Linked DNA regions of Homo sapiens: all the other regions are linked to region 4. The links are contacts of gene promoters, found by promoter capture Hi-C in blood cells and fetal thymus (Javierre and others, 2016). All regions are on one chromosome and are shown on one strand. Each heading gives the region's core, a stretch centred on a gene start or on the middle of the fragment in contact. The rest is flanking DNA. Distances are from core to core; before and after follow the strand shown. Region 1 has its middle 11 kb from the start of OR4Q3. Region 2 overlaps OR4Q3 (olfactory receptor family 4 subfamily Q member 3). Region 3 has its middle 3.4 kb from the start of OR4M1. Region 4 holds the start of OR4L1 (olfactory receptor family 4 subfamily L member 1).

What was found. The method cuts DNA at HindIII sites, captures the fragments that hold promoters and counts their contacts. A CHiCAGO score of 5 or more calls a contact.
Region 1: a fragment that was not itself captured here is called in contact with the fragment with the promoter of OR4L1 in region 4 in 1 of 17 cell types (total CD4 T cells); the score reaches 5.6 in total CD4 T cells.
Region 2: a fragment that was not itself captured here is called in contact with the fragment with the promoter of OR4L1 in region 4 in 4 of 17 cell types (total CD4 T cells, M2 macrophages, neutrophils and 1 more); the score reaches 9.5 in total CD4 T cells.
Region 3: a fragment that was not itself captured here is called in contact with the fragment with the promoter of OR4L1 in region 4 in 11 of 17 cell types (total CD4 T cells, non-activated CD4 T cells, activated CD4 T cells and 8 more); the score reaches 11.6 in total CD4 T cells.

The regions. Positions count from the first base shown.
Region 1 is chr14:19,731,350-19,734,049 of GRCh38, reverse strand. It overlaps the pseudogene OR11K2P. Among named protein-coding and RNA genes, the nearest start is that of OR4Q3, 11 kb to the left of the region's middle. The HindIII fragment of the contact is 7,271 bases long and covers 1-2,700 here.
Region 2 is chr14:19,748,182-19,750,881 of GRCh38, reverse strand. It overlaps OR4Q3 (olfactory receptor family 4 subfamily Q member 3), which reads right to left. Exons shown (of 2, transcript NM_001405963.1): 2 at 1,413-2,700. The coding sequence ends at 2,513. Among named protein-coding and RNA genes, the nearest start is that of OR4Q3, 6.0 kb to the right of the region's middle. The HindIII fragment of the contact is 6,740 bases long and covers 1-2,700 here.
Region 3 is chr14:19,768,776-19,771,475 of GRCh38, reverse strand. No RefSeq gene overlaps it. Among named protein-coding and RNA genes, the nearest start is that of OR4M1, 3.4 kb to the left of the region's middle. The HindIII fragment of the contact is 157 bases long and covers 1,198-1,354 here.
Region 4 is chr14:20,058,795-20,061,509 of GRCh38, reverse strand. OR4L1 (olfactory receptor family 4 subfamily L member 1) reads right to left here and starts at 1,465. Exons shown (of 1, transcript NM_001004717.1): 1 at 527-1,465. The coding sequence starts at 1,465. The coding sequence ends at 527. The HindIII fragment of the contact is 2,043 bases long and covers 910-2,715 here.

The DNA.
Region 1 (2,700 bases), core at 187-2,686, 330 kb after region 4:
TGCTGGCCAACTTCCTCTCCACAAGCAAGTCCATCTCATTCATGAGTTGTTTTGCACAGTTCTACTTCTTCTTATCTTTGGGGTATGATGAGGGCTTCTTCCTTTGCATCATGGCCTTTGACAGGTATCTTGCCATCTGCCGCCCTCTACGTTATCCATGCATTATGAATAAGCAAGTATGCACTGGCCTTATCATCTTTGCATGGTCATGTGTCTTTGTAATCTTCCTAATTCTGTTGATTCTCATTTCACAGATATCCTACTGTGGCCCAAATATTATCAACCATTTTGTTTGTGATCCTGTACCATTGGTGATGCTGTCCTGTTCTGCAGACATAATCATCACCTAGCTCATTTACTCCACATTCAATTCTATCTTCATGATTGGCACCTTTCTCTTTATCCTTTGTTCCTATGCTCTGGTGATTCTGGCTGTAATACAGATGCCTTCAGAGGCTGGCAAACGAAAGGCTTTCTCCACTTGTGCCTCTCATTTGGCAGTTGTCACCTTGTTTTATGGCTCTATCATGGTGATGTATGTTAGTCCTGGATCAGCACACCCAGTAAAAATGCAAAAAATCATTACCTTGTTCTATTCTGTGATAACACCACTCTGTAATCCTCTAATATATAGTCTCAGGAGCAAAGAGATGAAAGATTCTCTGAGGAAAATCTTCAGGACTGGAAAAGATGTTAATAAAATATAAATAAGAGACAATTTTCATTTATCAAATGTAACTTTATTATACATGAATATTTGTCTACAAATTTATTGTTTTATTTAACAACTGCTATAATAATGAGCCATTAACATCTTAAATACCACTCACCACAATCTGCATTACTGTGGTCTTATTTAAGTATGTTTCAACAGTGAACTAGATTTTCTGTTGAAGTGAATAATAAGTATGTAAAATCAGAACCTGTATATGTAATTCAACTTTTCAAAAAGAATACAGACATCCTTTTTGTATTACTGAGCTAAAGCAATTGATAACACATGTGACAGATATCATAGACTGCTCTCACAATTAACACTATAATCCAATCATTATCCACTAGGAGATACTGGCTGAAAAAGAGCCAAGTTTTAAGAAGTCCAGCTTGTCAAAATGTAGCAAGTGGTCTTTACATTATGTAAATAGACTAATAGCCTTAGTTTGATATTCAGTGTTTTTTCAGAGAGTACACAACCAAGAATTAGGAATTTAAAGCAGATTTGTTACCTGGAATATAGTGCAGCAAAGACCTAAACAAAAAGGTGAGCATTACTCAGGATATAGCTTGCTTTGTTGTAAACCCACTTTAAACACAGGATTTGATATCATAACTAATTTAGTATTAATACTGTGTGACTTATTTGAGTACTGCTGGACAGTACTAAAACAAAACTCTTAAAATCCATTTTATAAAATATTTGACTAATATCTTGCTTTAATTTTGACTTTTGTTCTATGCCATTTTTTCAAATACAACTCTCAAAAACTTAATAAAAAGGAATCACAATATGAAATGTAGTTTACAGAATTTTAATTTGTAAGACTTCATAGCTATTTGCTCCACAAAATGAGGTGCTACTGCAATTAGTTTTTGTGTCACAAGGAAGCTGAGTTGAGAATATTTTCTGGGTTTGAAAGGAAGGATTTATGTGAGTTCTGGGGAAAAGAGTGGTTGTTTTATTATACTTCGCATGTGAAATGTAAATTAAGTAGCTAAATACTTGCCTGAAAAACTCTTTTATATAGGAAGAAAATACAAACAATTTAGAACTTCGTTCAAACTGACTTCAACGGTGGGCTCTCTTTAAAGTGCTGATAAATTTAGCACTGAGTTTCACCTGTCCATGCCAGTTTTGTTTATATTTCTTAATTATATGAGAAAAAATGATAGAAATTCTTAATAAAATATAATCTCAACTGTTATAAATGTGCACAGTGCCCATATTTGTAATTATCTTCAAGTTGATCATTAACCAATCTTATCTTACCAATATTAAATTCTATCTCATATTGAGCTTGCTGGCACTTGATAGAAAGAATTGAAAACTATTTGATACAGTAAAAAGCATTTCCGTAAGATACAAACATGCCTTCATTGTGACAATATCTCTTCCTCAGTTCATACCTATGGCTTCATGGTATTTCACACAACCAGCTAATAAAGGAAGAAACAGCCTCAGGCTTGGCTCACAAATGGATTGTCTGAATCTACACTTAGACAAGATAAAAACTGACTAATGCTGCAGCTTAACGCCTCTCCAGGGTAGCCATAGAATGTAGTGGTGGAGGAAATCCTCATAAACCAATGATTTGGTAGCAATATACTTAGTTGTCCACTTTGAATGTTGGGAAAAATAGCTTGCTATGCAAGATAAGGATATGTGTAGAATAATGATTGTTGTAAAAAAACTTCACTAAGCAAAGCCCCCCCAAAATACAGAAAAATCAGATTTAATGAAATTTGAGGTGGAGGCCTATGTATGGGCCTATGAGAATAAGCACAAAGTATGCAGATCTTTGTTTCTCAACTCTGTGCCCATTAGAGAGTATCCTCCAGAGTGGAGGCACTCAATACCTAGGTGAAAAGAATAAGTCATCTAAAAATGTCAGTCAGCTCTGATTTCATTCACCTCAGAGCTTATAAAAGGGAATACAAAGAAAGTTGTATAAATGGAAAATATCCACAAGCCAAAAAATACAG
Region 2 (2,700 bases), core at 83-2,582, 310 kb after region 4:
CGTATGCAAAAAACCCTGAAAATGTTGAGTAGAGTGAAGCTAAAGAGAAGAACATGATGTTCCAGGTATGTCATTCTCACCCTCACCCACACTATTTAGAAATCTCCCAAATGGCAGCCTAGTTCCTAGTCTGTGAGGAGTCCTTCTATAGCAATATATACATATACACATACATATATATGGCTTCTTAAATATAAAGTCATTAACTCCCAACACAAAAATAAAAATACATATTTTGTCCCTATATCAAGAAAGCTCTTACACGACCAGGGTTATTGCAATTTTCCAGTATATCCTAGTATTAGATGGAGTTTCAGACATTTTTTTCACAGGTATATTTTTCAGCTAAGTAATCATAAAAGCCTCTCTATGGCAATTCATTAGGAGATAAAGTGACAAAATATAAAAAACATTGTAAAAGTTTGTCATTATCTTATTATATAGTAAATAGAATAAACACATTTTCATAGCCATAAAATATTGCAAGGATCCTATGTCAGAGATGGATAATCTTAAATATAAATGCTTAAGTTAACCTTTTTAGGGATTTTCCAGCTCTGAAGCTCCTATACAGGTATTATAGAAATTAAGTAATCTGGCCGGGTGTCGTGGCTCATGCCTGTAATCCCAGCACTTTGAGAGGCTGAGGCAGGCAGATCACCTGAGGTCAGGAGTTCAAGACCAGTCTGGCCAACATGGAGAAACCCCGTCTTTACTAAAAATACAAAAATTAGCCAGGCATGGTGGCCAGCACCTGTAATCCCAGCTACTTGGGAGGCTGAGGCAAGAGGATCACTTGAACCTGGGAGGCGGAGGTTGCAGTGAGCCAAGATTGTGCCACTGCACTCCAGCCTGGGAGACAAGAGTGAGACTCTGTCTCAAAAAAAAAAGAAGAAGAAAGAAAGAAAGAGAGAAAGAGAGAGAAAGAAAAAGAGAAAAAAGAAGAAAGAGAGAGAGAAAGAAAGAAAGAAAAAAGAAAGAAAGAAAGAAAGAAAGAAAGAAAGAAAGAAAGAAAGAAAGAAAGAAAGAAAGAAGTAATCTGTATAATTGGGATAAATACTCTAAGAAATAGAGAGAAAGAGAGAGAAAGAAAGAAAGAGAAAGAAAAAGAGAAAAAGAGAGAAAGAAGAAAGAGAGAGAGAAAGAAAGAAAAAGAAAGAAAGAAGCAATCTGTATAATTGGGATAAATACTCTTTCTGAGGAGAAATAAAATATTAACTTAATTATATAATTATTAGCTTGCTTTCTTTTTTTTTTTTTTTTTTTTTTTTTTTTTTGCTTTGAGACCGAGTTTTGCTTTTGTTGCCCAGGCTGGAGTGCAGTGGTGCGATGTCAGCTCACTGCAACCTGTGCCTCCTGGGTTCAAGTGATTCTCCTGCCTCAGCCTTCCTGAGTAGCTGGGATTACAGGCATGCAACACCACGTCCGGCTAATTTTGTATTTTTAGTAGAGACGGGGTTTCTCCATATTGCTCAAGCTGGTCTCAAACTCCTGACTTCAGATGATCTGCCTGCCCTGGCCTCCCAAAGTGCTGGGATTACAAAGAGCTTTCTTGATTGATTGCATTTCTTCTAAGTGGTCATGGGCAAGTCACTTAACTCTGAGTTCATTCTCAAAAATGAAGTTAAGTAAATTTATTCCTCAAAGCATGTTTGAGACTCAGAGGTAATAACTGTGAGCATCTCAAAAATGAGTGCTTTCAATCACAGTTCATTTCTTCCTCTGTTCCTTTAGAGGTTAAAACTCTTAAACATTATGGTCAGTTGAAGAGCCAGCTTATCTATTCACCCCCACTGTAATTCCAATCAAAGAAAAACTCAGTGTGAAACTAGGTACCTCTTCTTGAGAAGCCTCTACAACAGAATACTAACAGCTTCCATCACCCCTGCACTCCTGGACTTCCTTTCTCTCACGCATAAACTTTGTTAAGAGCATATGTTCATTAGACTGATGCCTGACTACATTTCTAAAACTTGGGACACTGTGGAACACAGTTCTGAGGTAAATACTACACATAGGTGGTTGTTACTGTTCTCAGGCTTTGTTATAACAGAACAAAGAAATTCACACTACTTCAGAAAAGGATCTGATGAGACATCAGAAGGAACTTCCTAACACTAGGAATCATTAAATGCTGGAGGAACTGAACACAAAAAGAGATATATCTTCTTTCATTTGAATAGATTAAAAAGTGGAAAAAATTGAATAAATGAACAGTACTTAGAGACATAAAGATAGAAAAGTTGATCTTTCAATTAATGCTTGTTATCGTTTGTGGCCAGTAAATTCTACTGAGTTCCTGAGTTCTCTTGATTATGGTCAAAAGGCATAGGTGGCTTTCTAGAGTGCCACCTATGCTTTTAAATTGTAATCAAGAGTGATCCATTATAATCTTTATGCTATCTCCTCTTTTATACCAACGTCATCAAAGTGGTTTTTACCCATGTACAAGATGAGTTAAGAGTCTTCCAAGAAAGAGTGTGTTTTTCAAATCACCTCTTCTGCTCATTCCTTAACAAGGCAATGGAATGCCACATGGTTTTATCCTCAGCTTCTTCATAGCTGTCTTCATATCAGTATTTCTGAGTGTGTAGATGAGGGGGTTCAACATAGGTGTAATCACTGTGTAAAACAAGGAGAATATCTTATCCACAGAGAAGCTGCAGAAAGGCCTCAAATAGATGAATACGCATGGCACGA
Region 3 (2,700 bases), core at 27-2,526, 290 kb after region 4:
TGCCGACAGCTTCAGCAAATGGGGGTATGTCACAGCTCATTCAGTCCTGCTGCCCACAGCTCAGCAACTGGGGACGTGTGGCACCCAGCATTTTTTTTTTCACTCCTGTAGCTTGGTGAACAGGAGCGTGTCTTACAACTCTTTTCGCACCCACTGTTCAGTGGATTCCGGATTCTTGTCCCACAACCAACAGGAATGAAGCATATAGACACCGCAGAGTGAGCAAGGCTGATGAGATTTTTACTGAGCGGCAGAAAAACTCATGACAACAAGAGAGTAGCCAAAGTGGGTAGCCCTCTGTGTAAGAGTGGGACTGAAAGCAGAGAGCCATCTGTGAGGCTGAGTCTGGGGTTTTTATGGGCTCAGAATGGAGGAATGTGTGCTGACTGGTTCATGGGCAGGCCTGGAAAAAGCACCATTTAATTGACTAAAAGGCACTGAGGAAGTTCTCAGTTGGGTCGTGGACTGCACCTGGAACTGGTGGCTTGGTTTTCAGGCTTCATGTTGTCTTTGGCTTGAAGGTTGGGATTCACCAGGGACTTATACCTGTCTGCCTAGGAATCTGTCTGTCTCCTGCCATTATCAGCTGCACATACCACACTGCTTTCACTACCAAGGAACCCACAATGATCACTGCGCAAACTATAGTACTTAACTCCACAGAGGACTCCAGCAGGTTTAGTCACTGACAAAATCAACACCCAAAGATCACAAAGAAGCAGGAAAACATGACACCACCAAAGGAACAAAATTAATTTCTAGTAACCAACCCCAAAGAATTGGAGATCTATAAATTGCCTGGAAAAAATCAAAATAATTACATAAGGAATCTTGGGGAACTACAAGAGAACACAAATAAATAGTTTAATGAAATCAGGAAGACAATCCAAGAACAAAATGAGAAGCTCAATAAAGAGAGAAAATATTTTAAAAAGAACCAAACAGAAATGTTGGAGCTGAAAAATACAACAGCTAAACTAAAAAAAAATGTAATAGAGGCTTGAACATCAGACTAAATGAAGCAGAATAAAAAAATAAGTGAACTCAAAGACCGAGCATTTTAAATCATCCAGTAAGTGGAGATAAAAGAAAAAAAAGAATAAAACCTACAGAAGCCATGGAATACTATCAAGAGAGCTAACATTAGAATTATCGTAGGTTCAGAAGAAAAATAGAGAGAGCATTAGATAGAAAGCTTATTTAAGGAAATAATCATGGGAAACTTAGCAAATATCCGGAAAGAAATGAGCATCCACATGCACGAAGCCTAAAGTTCTCCAGTCAATTCAACCAAAAAAAGAATCCACAAACATACGTTAACATCAGCCTGGCAAAAATCAAAAACAGAGAAGCTTGTAAGCAGCAAGAGAAAAGAATCATGTCATATAAAAAAGGACCCAAATAAAGCTATCAGTGGATTTCTCAGCAGGAACCTTGAGGATCAGGAGAGAATGAAATAATATATTCAAAGTGATGGAAGAAAAATAAAACTGCCAACCAGCAATATTTTGCCAGCAAAGCTGTCCTTCAGAAATGAAGAAGATAAAGACTTTTTTAGAAAAACAAAAAAAGTTGAGTGAGTCTTCACTATTGCTTGCCTTACAAGAAATGCTAAAGGGGGATTTTTAAGATTAAATAAAAGGCAGCTAATTAGTAACATTAAAACATACAAAAATGTAAAACTAACTGGTAAAGTATATATATGGTTAAATTTAGAATATTCAAACACTATAATGGTGGTGGTGTGAATCACACCATCATTATAAAGTTATAAGATGAATGTATGCAAAATGACTATAGCTATAATAAATTCTTAAGACATACAAAAAATGTAAACTGTAACATCAAAAGCACAATGTAAGAGAAGGGAAGTAAAAGTACAGAGCTTCTTTAGCAATCAAAGTTAAGATGTTATCGTCTTTAAATGAATTGGTTAAACAATAAGAATATTTATGTAAGCCTCATGGCAACCACAAATTAAAAATCTATAGTAAATACACAAAAGATAAACAGAAAAGAATCAAAGCATACCACCAAATAAAATGATCAAATCACAAAGGAAAACAACAAAGGAGTAATAAAGGGATAAAGGATCTACAAAGCAACCAGAAAACAATTAATAAATTGACAATAATAAATCTTTACTTACCAACTATAAATAAGCAAATTTTGTTAATCAAAAGACAAAGAGTGGCTGAATTGATTTATAAAAATAAAATCCAACTTAATGCTGCCTACAAGAAACTCACTTCACCTTTAATAACACACACAGACTAAAAGTAAAGGGGTAAAAAACAAAAATATTCCATGAAAATGAAAATCAAAAAAGAGCAGTAGCAGTTACATGTGTATCAGACAAAATAGACTTTAAATACTGTCACAAGAGACAAAGAAGGTCATTAGATATTGATAAGAAAGTCAATTCATTGAGATAATAGAACAGTTATAAATATGAATACACCCAACATCAGAGCACCTAAATATATAAAGCAAATATTAACAAATCTAAAGCAAGAGATAGACTGCAATGCAATATTAATAGAGAACTTTAATATCCAATTTTCAACAATGGATAAATCATCCAGAAAGAATATTATTAAGAAAACATTGTCTTGAACTACTTCAGACTAAATGAATCTAATAGACATACACAGAATATTCAATCCAACAGCAGAACACACATTCTTCTCAAGCTTACAC
Region 4 (2,715 bases), core at 216-2,715:
TTCTACTAAAATTGTCGTTCCATTGGCATTTTTCTCTGGCATCTTATAGTCACTGTGCTGTTGAATTTGTGGACTCATTCTTACTTTTTGCCTCCATTGATTCAAGAAACTAGAATTGCTTTTTCTGTTAACATTATTTAATTCATGACTTGTTCATGATACCTCATTTAATAATAGTATAAATTTATGAATAACATTATCAATATATATTAAAATAACCTCTAATAATATTCATATCTTCATGTATTCATTTACAGTTGTTTCTTTATTAATGAATATATTGAATGTATATGATAAAAATCCTCAATAATCTTTTTATGTTTATTTATGTCTATTTTTATGTCTATTTTGCTGCAGATCTCTATCCTTATGTTTATAAAAGTCTTAAATGTAAAATTTAAAGTAATTTAGTATTGTCTTTATGCGTTATTATTATAACATAAGAAAAGTGAAATGATGCATTATACATAATCTATTCAAACTATCTTATCGTAGCATTTAAAAGTTAATTATATAGTGCTAACATCTAGAAATTCTGTGCAGAACTAACATATTGGAACCGTAATTTTCTTATGGCCTCTTGCATTTTCTTATTTCTCAGGGTATAAATACTCGGATTCAGTAAGGGTGTGATAACTGTATAAAATACGGCAAGAGTTTTATTGCTTGCCAAACTACTGAATGGCCAAACATAGATAAAAATACAAGGTCCAAAGAACAGAGTGACCACAATGATGTGGGCAGACAATGTGGACAGCGCCTTGGAGAGCCCATGTGATGATTTTTTTGGTACACTGACCAGGATGACAATGTAAGAAACAAGCAAGAGGATGAAACAGGTGAAAGAGAGCAGCCCGCTGTCAGCAATGACAAATAATTCCAGGGTGTATGTTTCAATGCAAGCAAGCTTGATCACAAGGGGAAGATCACAAAATATGTTGTTTATGACATTGTGGCCACAGAAAGGCAAGTTCATTGTTAAAACTATCTGGCTTATGGAGTGTAAAAAACCAATTATCCATGAAAGTATCGCAAACCCCTTTAGCAGCTTGTGGCTCATGATTGTCCTATAGTGCAGGGGTTTACATATGGCTACATACCTGTCAAAGGCCATGATTATCAGAAGAGTCATCTCAGCACCCCCAAAGAAGTGCATGAAGAACATCTGGGTCACGCAGCCCCACACAGAGATGGTCTTGTGGTCAGTGAGCAAATCTATGATCATCTTGGGTGTTGTGGCAGTGGAGAGACACATGTCCAAAAAAGAGAGATTTCCAAGGAGAAAGTACAAGGGAGAATGAAGGGTTGACCTACATGTCACTGTGACCATAATGAGAATGTTTCCCATCACAGTAGCACCGTAGATCAGGGAAAATGTCACAAAGAAGAAAATTTGAAGTTCCCATCGTCCAAAAAATCCTAGTAAAATAAACTCGGTCACTAGAGATCCATTTTTAAGATCCATTTACTCAACTCAGAAAGGTTCCAGAAGTTCTTTATATACAAAGAGAATTAAAAAATAAGTCACAGTTAACACCAATATTTTCTTATTTCTATTAGTTGGTGATAATAGTTGATGATATGAGATCATATAATTTTAAATATATCAACACAGAGATTAGCTTAAATATTATATCACTTTGAAACAATTACTCTGCAGTAATTACAAATCATTTGAAGAAGTAGAAGTTCCATTTTCTATTGTTTATTCCATAAAATCATACTCTTATCAATGGATCTTGACTTTCTTACTCATTTGTTCACATATAAAGATTAGATACTAATTAATTACTTTTTATTTTGCCTTTTATTATTATAGTATTCTGTACCTGCACTTCTTGAGATTATGTTATCCCAATATATAAGGAATACAAGATTTAGAAAATGAAGAATTACATTGTTCTACATCTCTGAAGTAATTTATGAAGGTTTTTCTATGGTTCTAAACTAAATAAGCAAACAAACAAACAAAAAGCACACACACACACACACACAAATCAGGAGCAAATTATACATGGATGAAAGTATATAAATTTATTTAAAATAATTTTTCTTTTTAATATACATGTATACCTCTTTTATTGTGTTTCACTTTATTGTCCTTTGCAGTTATTTAATGTTTTATAAACTGAGGGTTTGTGACAACCCTGGATCCAGCAAGTCTATTGGCACCATTTTTCCAACAGCATGTGCTCACTTTATGTCTCTGTGTCACATTTTGGTAATTCCCAAAATATTTATTTCAAACTTTATTATTATTATTACACGTTATTTGATCTGTGACCAGTAATCTTTTATGTTACTATTTTCATTATTTTTGGGCACCACAAGCCGTGCCCATGTAGAATGGCAGACAATTGATAAATGTTGTTTCTAACGGCTCCACCAACCTACTCTTCCCTCATCTCTCTCCTTCTCTTCAGGCCTCTCTATTCTTTGAGATACAACAATATTGGATTTAGGCCAATTAATAGCTTTGCAATAGCCTCTAAGTGTTCAAGTAAAAGGAAAAGTTGCATGTCTTTTATTTGAAATAAACTAAGAAAAAACTGGAGACAGTTAAACGTTCAGTGGTTTCCAGGGGTTTGAATGAAGAAGGAGAAATGAAGAAATAAGAGAAGTACGGAGAATTTGCAGGGTATTGAAACAATTCTTATCTACTATACTTAGAAATACATAACACATTTGTCAAAACCCATAGCATGTATAACATCA